Regions from separate parts of the Homo sapiens genome. Here region 2 is linked to region 1. Evidence: promoter capture Hi-C in human tissues and cell types (Jung and others, 2019). All regions are on one chromosome and are shown on one strand. The core of a region is centred on a gene start or on the middle of the fragment in contact, and the rest is flanking DNA. Distances in the headings are between cores, read along the strand shown. Region 1 holds the start of IPP (intracisternal A particle-promoted polypeptide). Region 2 overlaps MAST2 (microtubule associated serine/threonine kinase 2).

Evidence for each region. Contacts are between HindIII fragments. The study calls those that stand out against the background at their distance.
Region 2: a fragment that was not itself captured here is called in contact with the fragment with the promoter of IPP in region 1 in 3 of the 25 tissues and cell types used here (adrenal gland, aorta and mesenchymal stem cells).

What each region holds. Positions count from the first base shown.
Region 1 is chr1:45,748,598-45,754,788 of GRCh38, forward strand. IPP (intracisternal A particle-promoted polypeptide) reads right to left here and starts at 2,056. Exons shown (of 9, transcript NM_005897.3): 1 at 2,000-2,056. It overlaps LOC105378693 (a long non-coding RNA gene), which reads left to right and starts at 2,352. Exons shown (of 3, transcript XR_947290.2): 1 at 2,352-2,651; 2 at 5,968-6,144. RefSeq lists a silencer at 1,897-2,166. The HindIII fragment of the contact is 34,877 bases long and covers 1-6,191 here.
Region 2 is chr1:45,850,225-45,857,030 of GRCh38, forward strand. The region is part of intron 3 of MAST2 (microtubule associated serine/threonine kinase 2); the gene reads left to right. Among named protein-coding and RNA genes, the nearest start is that of MAST2, 50 kb to the left of the region's middle. The HindIII fragment of the contact is 4,121 bases long and covers 1-4,025 here.

The DNA.
Region 1 (6,191 bases), core at 806-3,305:
GGAAGTCCAGGCTGCAGTGAGCTGAGATGGTGCCACTGCACTCCAGCCTGGACAACAGAGCAAGACCGTGTCTCAACAACAACAACAACAAAAAGCAGGTGCGGTGACTCACGCCTTTAATCCCAGCACTTTGGAAGGCTGAGGCGGGTGGATCACCAGAGGTCAGGCGTTCAGGACCAGCCTGGCCAACATGGTGACCCCATCTCTACTAAAAAATACAAAAAATTACCCAGTCATGGTGGTGGGCGCCTGTAATCCCAGTGACGTGGGCGGCTGAGGCAGGAGAATCGCTTGAACCTGGGAGGCAGAGGTTGCAGTGAGTGGAGATGGAGCCACTGCATTCCAGCCTGGGCAACAGAGAGACTCCGTCTCAAAAAAAAAAAAGGAAAAAAAGGGGGTGGGGGCGGAGAAACCATGTATTTGGCCCTACACAGAAATGTGACCTGGAACTATTATCAACATGACATGACTGTCAGGCCTTTTCTGTTTTACATTTCTGTCAGCACATTTTGAACCCTAGTGGTTTAATTACAAGGTACCTCCTCTGTCCCCTACTTCAAGGCATCAAGCACAGCCACTGAGCTAAAATGCTGCCTCCTGCTACAAGAAAGAGTTGACTGAATATCCATTCGGGTGGCAGACAACAGAAATACTAGTCTGTTACCATGCTTCTCAGTAACTGCTGATACCATCCCACTGTCAGTGGAGTAGGAACGTCATCCCAAAAGGTGGCATGTGGAGTGACCATATTTCCAAAGGAAAAGAGCACAATTCTGTGACGTTGCATGCCTCACGTGCCCCAAACTTGAAAAGCAGATTGTTGACTGGGCAAGGTGGCTCACACCTATAACCCCAGCACTTTGGGATGTCCTGTCGGGAGGATCGCTTGATTTTTTGTTTTTTTTTTTTGTTTTGTTTTTGTTTTTTGTTTTTTTTTTTTTGAGACGGAGTCTCGCTCTGTCGCCCAGGCTGGAGTGCAGTGGCACGATCTCGGCTCACTGCAAGCTCCGCCTCCCGGGTTCACGCCATTCTCCTGCCTCAGCCTCCCGAGCAGCTGGGACTACAGGCGCCCGCCACCACGCCCGGCTAATTTTTTGCATTTTTAGTAGAGACGGGGTTTCACCGTGTTAGCCAGGATGGTCTCGATCTCCTGACCTCGTGATCCGCCCGCCTCGGCCTCCCAAAGTGCTGGGATTACAGGCGTGAGCCACCGCGCCCGGCCAGGGAGGATCGCTTGAGTCCTAGAGTTCAAGACCAGCCTGGGCAATACAGCGAGCCCCCCGCCGCAAAAAAAATTGTTTTAACATTAGCTGGCTGTGATGGGGCAAGCCTGTACTTCCGGCTACTTGGGAGGCTGAGGTGAGAGGATCGCTAGAGCCTGAGAAGTCGAGGCTGCAGTGAGTTGTGATCGCACCACTGCATTCCAGCCTAGGAGAAGGGGCGAGACTGTCTCAAAAAAAAAAGCAGATTATTAGGAAACGGTAGAAATGCCCAGAGGAACTAAAGCGGACCTATGTTTGCTGGCTTTGAATTCACTGCTGGGAACATGTGGAAACTGCTTCAGCAAAGGGGTGTCAGAAAGAATCCCCGGAACAAGTGTCAAAACACCCGTGGTTCTTTGTGCTTGAGTTGGGGGCCCGGCCTAGAGAGCTAGCCCTAAACTGCTGCTACACTAAAAGCTAATAATCGTTCCTGCGCTACCTAAAGGTCAGGGAAGGGATCTCAGACAAACGAGGCGACAACAGAGGGACTGGGGACACAGCCTCAGGATTCCCCAGTTGGGGCGGGGGAGGCAGGAGCGGTCCGGACGAGAAGGTCTGGGGAGGGCGACACTTAGACTGTCGGAGGAAGGCCTGCGGCGGCAGAAGGAAAGACAAGGAAATACACAGTTCTAGAGGCTTCTCTCACTCCAGTCCTCAGGGGTCCGGAAAGCCGGAGGGAGTAGAAGAGGAAGTTCCCAACCCCGTCACAGACGCGCCCGAACGCAGGCCCTCCTTACCCGCCGCTTCCCCTTCCCTCCGGCGCCCGCTCAGGCCCTGCGCGCGCAGTCGCGACCAGCCCCGGCCGGAGAGGGCGGGGGAAACCTGGCGGGGGTGACGAGGCGGGAGTGACTGGGCCGTACAGTTCCCCGAGAACTGGAGGCGAAGCCGGGCGGTGGGAAGGGACTTCGGACGCTTCGCGGGCCCTGGGTTTTCACTGCGCGTGCGCGAGGTTCTTCCGCTCGCGGGAGACTGGGCCGCTGGCGCCTCTCAGTGCCCACTGATGGGGCCCAGGGCTTGGGCTTGCTTCCCCAAGGATCAACAGCTTAGCTGCAAGCCTCTGCTTCTGCCTGCTGGGGCCGGCTGGCTCGCCCTTTCCATTCCGCTTGCACTCTGATTCTTGTGGTGTCCCAAGAAGGCCGCGGATCTCAGTTAAGCAGAGACGAGCCGAACACCTGGCACGGTCCTTCTCTACTGTTCTCTCGAATCGTTTTCTGAGTGCATGACTGAGCCTGGCACTGAAGGGATACTTATTTTGGGGAAGGAAGAACTCAAAAGTCCAGTTTTTTTCACTGTTGACCCTCATGTGTCACATTAGTGGCTTTCAAACTGTTTTGATCCCAGCCTACGGTGAACAAAAATATTTTACATCAAACTCAATACCACATACTTGTGAGTATATATATAGAAGTATATATCTAACATAAAATCTCATTTCTTTATTTTTATTTTTATTTTTTATTTTTTGAGACGGAATTTCGCTCTTGTTGCCCAGGCTAGAATGAATGCAATGGCCGGATCTCGGCTCACCGCAACCTCCGCCTCCTGGGTTCAAGCGATTCTCCTGCCTCAGCCTCTCAAGTAGCTGGGATTGCAGGCATGCGCCACCATGCCCGGCTAATTTTGTATTTTTAGTACAGACTGAGTTTCTCCATGTTGGTCAGGCTGGTCTCAAACTCCCCACCTCAGGTGATCCGCCCGACTCGGCCTCCCAAAGTGTATTTCTTTCTCTTTTTATGAGACAGGGCCTGGCTTTGTCGCCCAGGCTGGAGTGCAGTGGTGCCATCTCGGCTCACTGCAGCCTCGACTTCCTGGGCTCTGGTAGTCCTCCCACCTCAGCCTCCTGAGTAGCTGGGACTACAGGCCTGTGCCACCACCGCCAGGCTAATTTTTTGTATTTTTAGTAGAGACAAGATTTCGCCATGTTGACCAGGCTGGTCTCCAACTCCTGGGCTCGAGTGATCCGCCCGCCTCGGCCTCCCAAAGTGCTGGGAGGTGTGAGCCACTGTGCCTGGCCTGAAACAAAATCTTCACAAAACTATGTTTACACTTACGACCCGCAGTGCACTAAATTTTTATTTCTTCTTTTCTACTTCATTACCAAAAACTGCTAACAGGGACCTATTGTCAGCAAACATTGTCAAAGACTTGGAAATGAGGAAAAGAGAATTCTGTGTGCCCTTTCAGTGTAAGGCTGGACGGATTTGCATCCATAGGGAGCTCTGACTTTCTATTGACTAAAGTATTTCACCAGAAAACTGGTAGTACTTAAAATAATTCTTGCCCGTCTGTAGAAAAGATACACCAAAACATTGTTTTATTGACCTGTAGCATATTAAGCCATTTTTACCCTTCTCAGCAAATTCATTTAAACATTCCTGATTCTTAGCAAATTCATGCTACATTCCTAAATATCTTACTGGCTCCCTTATAAGTTAATGAGATAAATAAAATATTTGATACTTTTTTTTTATATTTGTAAGAGAGTCATGGTTTTACTCTTCAGAAAATTATACTTCAGCACTACTAAAATCAATTTCATGACTTACTCTGGATTACACTTGTGAAAGTTAAGCATACAGATTGGGCCATTCTTCTCATACCCACCGAAAATGGTGGGAGGGGAAACACTGAGGGCACATTTCATTGCTCAAAGAATGTAATTCTCTGCAACCCTGTCTGCTGAAACTGCCTGTTGTAACCTGAAACCAGTTTTACCCAATAGCTATTGAAACAAACTGCCATGACTCAAAGACTAGTTTGGTTTTTTGGTGGTTTTTGTTGTTGTTGTTGGTTGTTGTTTTGTTTTTGACAGGGTCTCTCTCCCTGTCACCCAGGCTGAAGTGCAGTGGTGTGATTGGGGCGGGGCTCACTGCAGCCTTGACTTCCTGGGCTCAATCAATCCTCCCACTTTAGCTTCCCAAATAGTTGGAACTACAGCTGCATACCAGCAAGCCCAGTTAATTTTTGTCTTTTTTGTAGAGACAGGGTTTCATCATGTTGCCAGGCTGGCCTTGAACTCCCAGGCTTAAGTGATCCACTCACCTAAACCTCCCAAAGTCCTGGGATTACAGGCTTGAGCCACTGAGCCCAGCCTCAAAGGACTAGTTTTACCCACTGCAGTCACTCACCAATCAGAGCTTGCCAGCAACCTAAAACTTTCCTAGTGCCAATGAACTTTCTTTCAAAGCCATATGTAACATTTCTCCTTTTTGTAAAACCTCAAAGTGAACCAAAGAACACCCAGTCTGTGTATATGCTTTGAATTGCAATTCTTGCCTCCCAAATAAAATGTTAACTTTAGAATTGCTTGGACCTGGGAGGCAGAGATTGCAGTGAACTGAGATCATGCCACTGCACTCCAGCCTGGGCAAAACAGCAAGACTTTGTCTCAAAAAAAAAAAAATGCTTATAGGCTGCTATAGACTAAATTGTGTCCTCCCCATAATTTACATGTTGAAGCCCTAGCCTCCAATGTAATGGTATTTGGAGCTACCACAGTGAGGCAGTGGGATGCGTCTCCCCATAAAAGATAATCGCTAGCCCCTCCCGAAGGAGAACAGGATCCCAGACGAGCCCCCAAATTTATTGGAAACAAGTGCTTGGCGTAGCCAAAAGAAACCCACACTTAGACAGAAAATTTCTCAGTAAGGCACCTTTACTTCTGCAGGATGGTGCTGCTTGCGCCTGTTAAAATCACAAGAGCACACCAAACAAAGGAGGGAAGGAGTTTTTAATCCTAATGCAGTTCCTGTTTTTGTGTCCTTCCCCTATTGACTGGGGTTGGACTGCACAATCTAAGCTGATCCTGATTGGCTAAGACTTAAACTTTTCCAAATATGGTAAACGCACAATTTGCAAAAAGAAGAAGAAGGGGGGCAGGTAGGATTGATTTACAACTTTTACAACTTACGAGCGGAAAGTTGAGTCTTTGAAGAGGCACTTAGTTGTCCCAACAATTTCCCCTCTTCTGTTCTATAGCTCTTCCTCTTCAGATTTCTTCAACAGGATTTGGCTTTGTTGTTCTTCTTGATTATCTAGGAGCAAGAACTTATCTGAGTACAGAGGGGGAGACGTAGGGGAGGATTTTGTGAGAGCTGCTTCTATGAGCCTTTGGGTTAACCCACGAATATAGGGTATGATACAGCAGCCCACAAGGATGAGTACACCTGTAACAATTGCAAGGGAGGTAATGATTGAGGTCATGAGTCCTTTCCATTTTCCAAACCACCTTTCCATCAGGCCCATAAAGGGATCTTCTATTCCAGAGTTTTCGGCTAATTCATTTGCTGGGGTGGTAAGGCCTTGTAAGGTTTTTGAGATTGTCCCATCGGGTGGTGTATTATTAGGGATAAAAGTACAACACTGGACCCCAATCATGACACAGACTCCGCCTTTTTTGGCTAACATCATGTCAAGCGCTATTCTATTTTCCCAGGCCATCTGGCTGGTAGGGCCTAATTGTTCAGCTATTCCTTTTATGGCATCTCTGGTATAATTGATGAATCGCTGCTGATTGTAGTATATATAATTTATCCAGTCTACATTTTTATTTATAGTGTACCACCAGAATAAGATACACTCGATCCCAGCAGCTATTTGGTTTCAAGTGTTGAATTCATTTGGTACCCCCGGCAGGACCCCAATGCTGTCTATGTAAACGTGGGGGTCAAAGGACCCGTTAATTGGGACTTCTCTTTTTCTTCAGGTTACCTGCTTCCTGTCTGGTTGATGAAATGCCAAGGTGAAAGGGATGGCCAATTGGATCAGAGCGCAAGTGCCACTCCAGTCGTTTGGCAGTGTACCCAATATTGGTCCCCCACAATACCACCACACATCCACTCAGGGATGGATAGGGCCGACTGACTGAAAAAAGTTTGAAAAAGTTTAGTGTCACTACATCCTATTATGTTTCCAAGGAATGTCAAATTT
Region 2 (6,806 bases), core at 715-3,214, 100 kb after region 1:
TGTTGGCTGCCTGTATATCTTCTTTTGAGAAGTGTCTGTTCATGTCTTTTGCCCATTTTGTGATGGGGTTGTTTTTTGCTTGTTTAATTGTTTAAGTTCTTTATAGAGTCTAGATATTAGACCTTTGTCAGATGCATAGTTTGCAAATATTTTCTCCCATTCTGTAGGCTGTTAACTCTACTGATTGTTTCTTTTGCTGTGCAGAAACTCTTTAGTCTAATTAGGTCCCACTTGACAATTTTTGTTTTTGTTGCAATTGCTTTTGAGGACTCAGTCATAAATTGTTTCCCAAGGTCAGTGTCTGGAATGGTGTTTCCTAGTTTGTTTGTTTGTTTTTTCCCTAGGATTCTTACAGTTTGAGGTCTTACATTTAAATCTTTAATCCATCTTGAGTTAATTTTTGTATGTGGTGAAAGGTAGGGTTCCAGTTTCATTCTTCTGCATGTGCCTAGCCAGCTATCCCAGCACTATTTATTGAATAGAGTCCTCTCCCCATTGCTTATTTTTGTTGACTTTGCTAAAGATCAGAAGATTGTAGGTGTGTGGCTTTATTTCTGGGTTCTCTATTCTGTTCTATAGGTCTATGTGTCTGCTTTTGTACCAGTACTATGCTTTTTTTTTTTTTTTTTTTTAAACACTGTAGCCTTATAGTATAGTCTGAAGCTGGGTAATGTAATCCCTGCAGCTTTGTTCTTTTTGCTTAGGATTGTTTTGGCTATTTGAGCTCTTTTTTGGTTTCATGTAAATTTTAGAATAGTTCTTTCTAGTTCTGTGAAAAATGACATTGGTAGTTTGATAAGAATTATGCTGAATCTGTAGATTGATTTGGACAGTATGGCTGTTTCAACAGTATTGATTCTTCTAATCCATGAGCATGAAATTTTTTTCCTTTTGTTTGTGTCACCTGTGATTTCTTTTAGCAGTGTTTGTAGTTCTCCTTGTTGAGATCTTTTACCTCCTTGGTTAGATGTATTCTTAGGTACTTTTTCTTTTTCTTTTTTTTGTAGCTATTGTAAATGGGACTGCATTCTTTACTTGGCTCTCAGCTTGAATGTTACTGGTATATAGAATTGCTACTGATTTTTGTACATTGCTTTTGTATCTTAAAACTGGGAAGCCATTTATCAGTTCCAGGAGCCTTTGGCGGAGTCTTTAGGGTTTTCCAGGTATAAAATCATATTGTCTGCAAAGAAAGATAGCTGGACTTCTTTGCTGTTTGGATGCCTTTTCTTTCTTTCCTTTGTGTGATTGCTGTGGCTAGAACTTCCAGTGCTCTGTTGACCAGCAGTCAGGAGAGTAGACATCCTTGTCTTGTTCCAGTTCTCAAGAGGAATGTTTCCAGTTTTTCTCATTCAGCATGATGTTGGCTGTGGATTTGTCATAGGTGGCTTTTATTTATTTTGAGATATGTTCCTTGGATGCCTAGTTTGTTGAGGGTTTTTATCATGAAGGGATGGTGGATTTTATTGAAAGCTTTTTCTACATCTATTCATCTGACTTCCTTTTTTCTGCTTGACCTAATAGAAAAAATTTTCAGCCCTACTTGAAATGAATTACCTGAGCTGAGGGACTGAGATTGCTGCTGGCAAATAGAATTAATGGACTATTTTTTAAAGAGGGCAAAAAGCTCCAAACAGAAACGTTTCTGAGATGTGTTGGGGCATTTTGGGAATAAAGTAACATGCATTTATAGGGAGATACTAAAATGAAAATATAGGAATTTCCTTTTTTTTCAGTTATTTAGCCTTTAAAAAAATACTTATGGTTGCATAGGAAGTTGCAAAAATAGTGCAGAGTACTATGAACCCTTCACCCAGCTTTCACCAATAGTGTCATCTTATATAGCTATAATACAATATTAAAACCATGAAAATGACATTTGTACAATATCATTAACTAGATTATAGCCCTTATTTGGTCTTTATATACACTTGTATATGTTTGTGTGTGTATGTACAAGTCATGCAATCTCATCCCATGAATAGATTTGTGTAATGGCCACCACCACAATCAACATACAGAACCGTACTGTCATTACAAAGGAATTCGCTTGGGCTGCCCTTTTATATTTGCACTCCCACCCCGTCTTTATCTTCTTGCAACCACTAATGTGTTCTTCTCTATGTGAATTATATTTATATTTATATTTCCTTTTGATACAGGGTCTCACTCTGTCCCCCAGGCTGGAGTGTGGTTTTGCAGTCATGGCTCACTGCAGCCTCCATCTCCCAGTCTCAGGTGATCCTCCTGCCTCAGCCTTCCGAGTAGCTGGGATCACAGGCACAAGCCACCATGCCTGGCTAATTTTTTTTTTTTTTTTTTAATTTGTAGAGATGGAGTCTTGCTATGTTGCCCAGACTGGTCTCGAACTCCTGGGCTCAAGTGATCCTCCTCCCTCAGCCTTCCAAAGTGTTGGAATTAAAAGGGTGAGCCACTATGCCTGGCCTTTATGTGAATATTATATAAATGGAACCATATAGTATATAACCTTTTGAGATTTTTTTCAGTAAGTATAATGTTTTTGAGATCCGTCTAAATTGTTGCATGTATCCACTCAGTTCTTTCCCTCTTTGTGTGTAGTATTCCATTGTATGGTCACACATCACTTGGTTATTTACTCACATGTTGATAGATTTTATGTGTTTGTTTTTTGAATCTGCACCACTGGCAATGGATTTTTTTAAAGCTATTAACTTTTTTTTTAAATTAAAAACAATTATTTTTTGTTGAGATGGTATCTCTGTCACCCAGGCTGGAGTGCAGTGGCATGATCTTGGGTCACTGCAACCTCTGTCTCCCAGGTTAAAGTGATTCTCATACCTCATCCTCCCGAGTAGCTGGGATTACAGTCGCCTACCACCATGCTCACTAATTTTTGTATTTTTAGTAGAGACAGGGTTTCACCATGTTGGTCAGGCTGGTCTCGAACTCCTGAGCTCAGGTGATCCACCTGCCTTGGCCTCCCAAAGTGCTGGGATTACAGATATGAGCCCCATGCCCTAAAACTATAAACTTTTAAAAGTTTTGTATGTATTCTAAATATAAATTCCTTGTTGGATATGTGGTTTGCAAATAACTTTTTTATTCTTTTTAACAGAGTGTTTTGCATAACACATTTATTAATTTTTTAAAAATAATTATTGTTTTTTTTTGAGTCAGAGTCTCTGTCACCTAGGCCATAGTGCAGTGGCTCGATCTCGGCTCACGGCAACCTCTACCTCCTGGGTTCAAGTGATTCTCCTGCCCAGCCTCCTGAGTAGTTGGGATTACAGGTGTGTACCATCACGCCTGTGTAATTTTTGTATTTTTAGTAGAGACAGGTTTTTACCATGTTGACCAGGCTGGTGTTGAACTCCTGACCTCAAGTGATCCACCCACCCCGGCCTCCCAAAGTGGTGGGATTACAGGCGTGAGCCACTGTGCCCATCCTAAAATTGTTTTTCTGTTTCTTAAAAGAAAAATTTTTTATACTACCTTTATGTGTACAATCTCTTTTTTTTTTCAATCAGCTTTCTTAGGTTGAAAAATGTCTTTAATTTTGATGAAGTTCTGATTGTGTTCTTGGTGTCATGTCTAAGAACTTTTCACCTATTCCTAGGTTCTGAAGATTTTCTCCTCTGTGTTCTTTTAAAAATTTACAGTTTTATTTTTTACATTTAACTCATGATCAATTTTGAAGTAATTTTTGTGTATAGTGTGAGTTGTAGGTTAAGCTTATTTTTTTATTCAGCTCATGGATGTCCAGTTGTTCTAGTATAAGTTATTGAAAAGTGTGTCCTTTCTGCATTGAATTGCTTTTCCACTTTTGCCAAAAATCAGTTGGACATATTCAGGCCGGGCACAGTGGCTCATGCCTGTAATCTCAGCACTTTGGGAGGCTAAGGTGGGCAGATCACCTGAGGTCAGGAGTTCGAGACCAGCCTGGCCAACATGGCAAAACCCTATCTACTAAAAATATAACAATTAGCCAGGAGTGATGGTTCATGCCTGTAATCTCATCTACTCGGGAGGCTGAGGCAGGAGAATCACTTGAACCCGGGAGGCAGAGGTTGCAGTGAGCTGAGATCGTACCACTGTACTGCAGCCTGGGTGACAGAGTGACCCTCTGTCTCAAAAAAAAAAAAAAAAAATTGGACATATTTGTGTGGTTTATTTCTGGGTTCTCTTTTCTGTTCAGTTCACTTATGGGACTCTCCTTCTGCCATTACCACAATGTTTTGATTACTGCTGCTATATAGTAAGTCTTAACATTGGGTAGAGTGATTCCTTACACTTACTGTTCTATTTCAAAATGGTTTTAGTGATTTTTTTTCTTTCTACATAAATTTTAGAATAAGCTTTTTTATATCTACAAAAAGTCTTGCTGGGATTTTGATAGGAATTACATTAAACCTATAAAGAAATATGAGATAAAGGAAAAACTAAACTTTTACCTACTCTCAAACTCACCACAACACAGGACCCTTCTGACACCACATTTATGGGTTTTTTTTCCCTGTACACCAAACAGCAGACAGAAGCTGGGTGCCTTATAATTTAACTCAACTCCTATACTGCATGCCTGGAATAAGCATCAGATCCCATAGGCTAAGGCCCTGTCCCATAAGATTGCCCCTACTTTAGATCCAGTTTCAGTCCTAGCTGGTTTTACCTGTTCTTTTGACTGACCAGCTATAAATTGGATACAGATGAACCACCAGGTGGAGAAGCACATAGGATGAGGCAGGTGGGAAGGAGTGTGGAGCTTCACCCGCTCTGGGCTCACTATCCTCCAGGTACCTGCATGTGGTCAGGATCCTGGAAGCTCTCTGAACCCTGTACTTCACTGATTTTCATGGCAGCTTTATCACATAGGCATGATCCCCTTCCCAGAGGATTGGAGGGTGAGGTGGAAAGTTCCAATTTTCTAATCATGGCTTGGTCTTTCTGGTGCACAGCCTCCATACAGGAGCCCAGTTAACATTCCCTTTGTTAGAACAGAAGGCATGTCTATCACCCAATAAATTCTAATGGATTGGGAGCTCTGTGTCAAGAACTAGGATGAAGACCAAAAAATATATATTTTTATTATAAATCACGATATCACAATAAGTTTTGAGGAGAAATGGCTTTTTTTTTCTATTTGATTCTTCTGACCCATGAAAATAGTGTGTCTCTGCATTTATGTAGATTTTTAATTCTTTTCATCAGCATGTTGTAATTTTTAGCATACATATCTTGTATGTGTTTTGCTGCATTTCTGTCTCTAAGTATTTTATCTTTTTGTATTTTCATGCTGCTTGCCAGGAACAGTCTCAGTCCCTCAGCGCTGGTAATTTATTTCAAGTGGGGTTGAAATTTAAGAGGTCAGATAGAAAAAAGAAATGAGATGAAACTTTTTTTTTTGCAACTTTAAATGATGTTGTATTTTAAATTTTAGTTTTTACATGTTTGTTGCTACTAGTATATAGAAATATGGTTGGTTTTCGTGTGCCGATCTTGTATCCGGTGAGTTTGCTGAACTCATTTAGGAGTTTTTCTTGTAGATTGAGCATTTCTACATAGGCAATCATGTCATTTTCAAATAGGACAGTTTTATTTTTTCCAATCTATATATTCCTTTTCTATCATTTTCTTTCTTTATTGCTCTGGCTAGGATTTAATTAAACACTGAATTTTTATTCTGGTAGTGCTGACTTCAGGAGCCTAATTTGGGACTAGCAAATGCTAGTTTTACTCACCTTATCATTACAGTTTCAGATCTTCGGCTTCTCTTGGGCTTCAGAAGTTTAACTTGGATTGATCTTGAATATTGATCTTGAATATGCTGAAGGCAGGAAAAGCTCTGTCCTGAGTGTATACACAGTGCAATATAATTTTTATTTATTTGCCTCCCTTGAGTGTGAGCTTCTTGAAGAAGACAGTTCTGAAGATACAGGGCTTGGTACACAGCAAACTTGTAATTAATGTTTGAGGTCAGGCATGGGTGGCTCACATCCGTAATCCAATGCTTTGGGAGGCTGAGGTGGGGGGATTGCTTGAGGCCAGGAGTTCAAGACCAGCCTGGGCAACCTAGCAATATCCCGTATCTAAAAATAATAACAGTTACAATTGTTTGTTGAGCAAATATTTAAATGAATAAATGGAACTAATATGTGGCTTCTTCTCATATAAGAAGTCTAGGGAAAACCTTTTCAGACAAGGTATAGTGTAACTCAGGTTGAAATGACAAATGTGAGACTATTTGCAGTCACACACGCAGTTGCACATGTGATTTTGACATCAAACATTTTTGTTTATTTTTGTTTACTTGCATGCCTTGTAAGTTTCATGTTTTACTAACAAGACACTTTATTCTTTGAGTGTTACATGTCGTTTGGTTTGGCTTGCTTCTGTATGTTAAAAAAACGTTCTGTCTTTTGAAAAGATACCATTATCTAATTGGTTTTAAGTTAGGAGAATTCTAAATTACAGGGCACAGTAAAATAAATGAGCAATTATACCGAGGAAGAGCAAAACAAACAAAAAAGAATCATGGAACCATGTTTTGTATATACGTGGGGAGAAGTTATCCTTTAGATCTGTTTTTTTTTTTTATGTGAGTATGCTTGAATGTATATGTCATGAGGGTAGTGGGCTGGGCTGAGCTGGGGAGGAGATGTGCATCATATGTAGGGAGTAGACTTAAGCTAGTTATTTTTAAATAATACTTTAGCAAGGGAATTAGTACTTGTTTAAGTGTTCATATTGCCTTAATATTAGCATAGCTTTTTCATCAATATGTTCAGTATCTCAAACGTCAAATTTGCATGAAAATATTCTCCCAA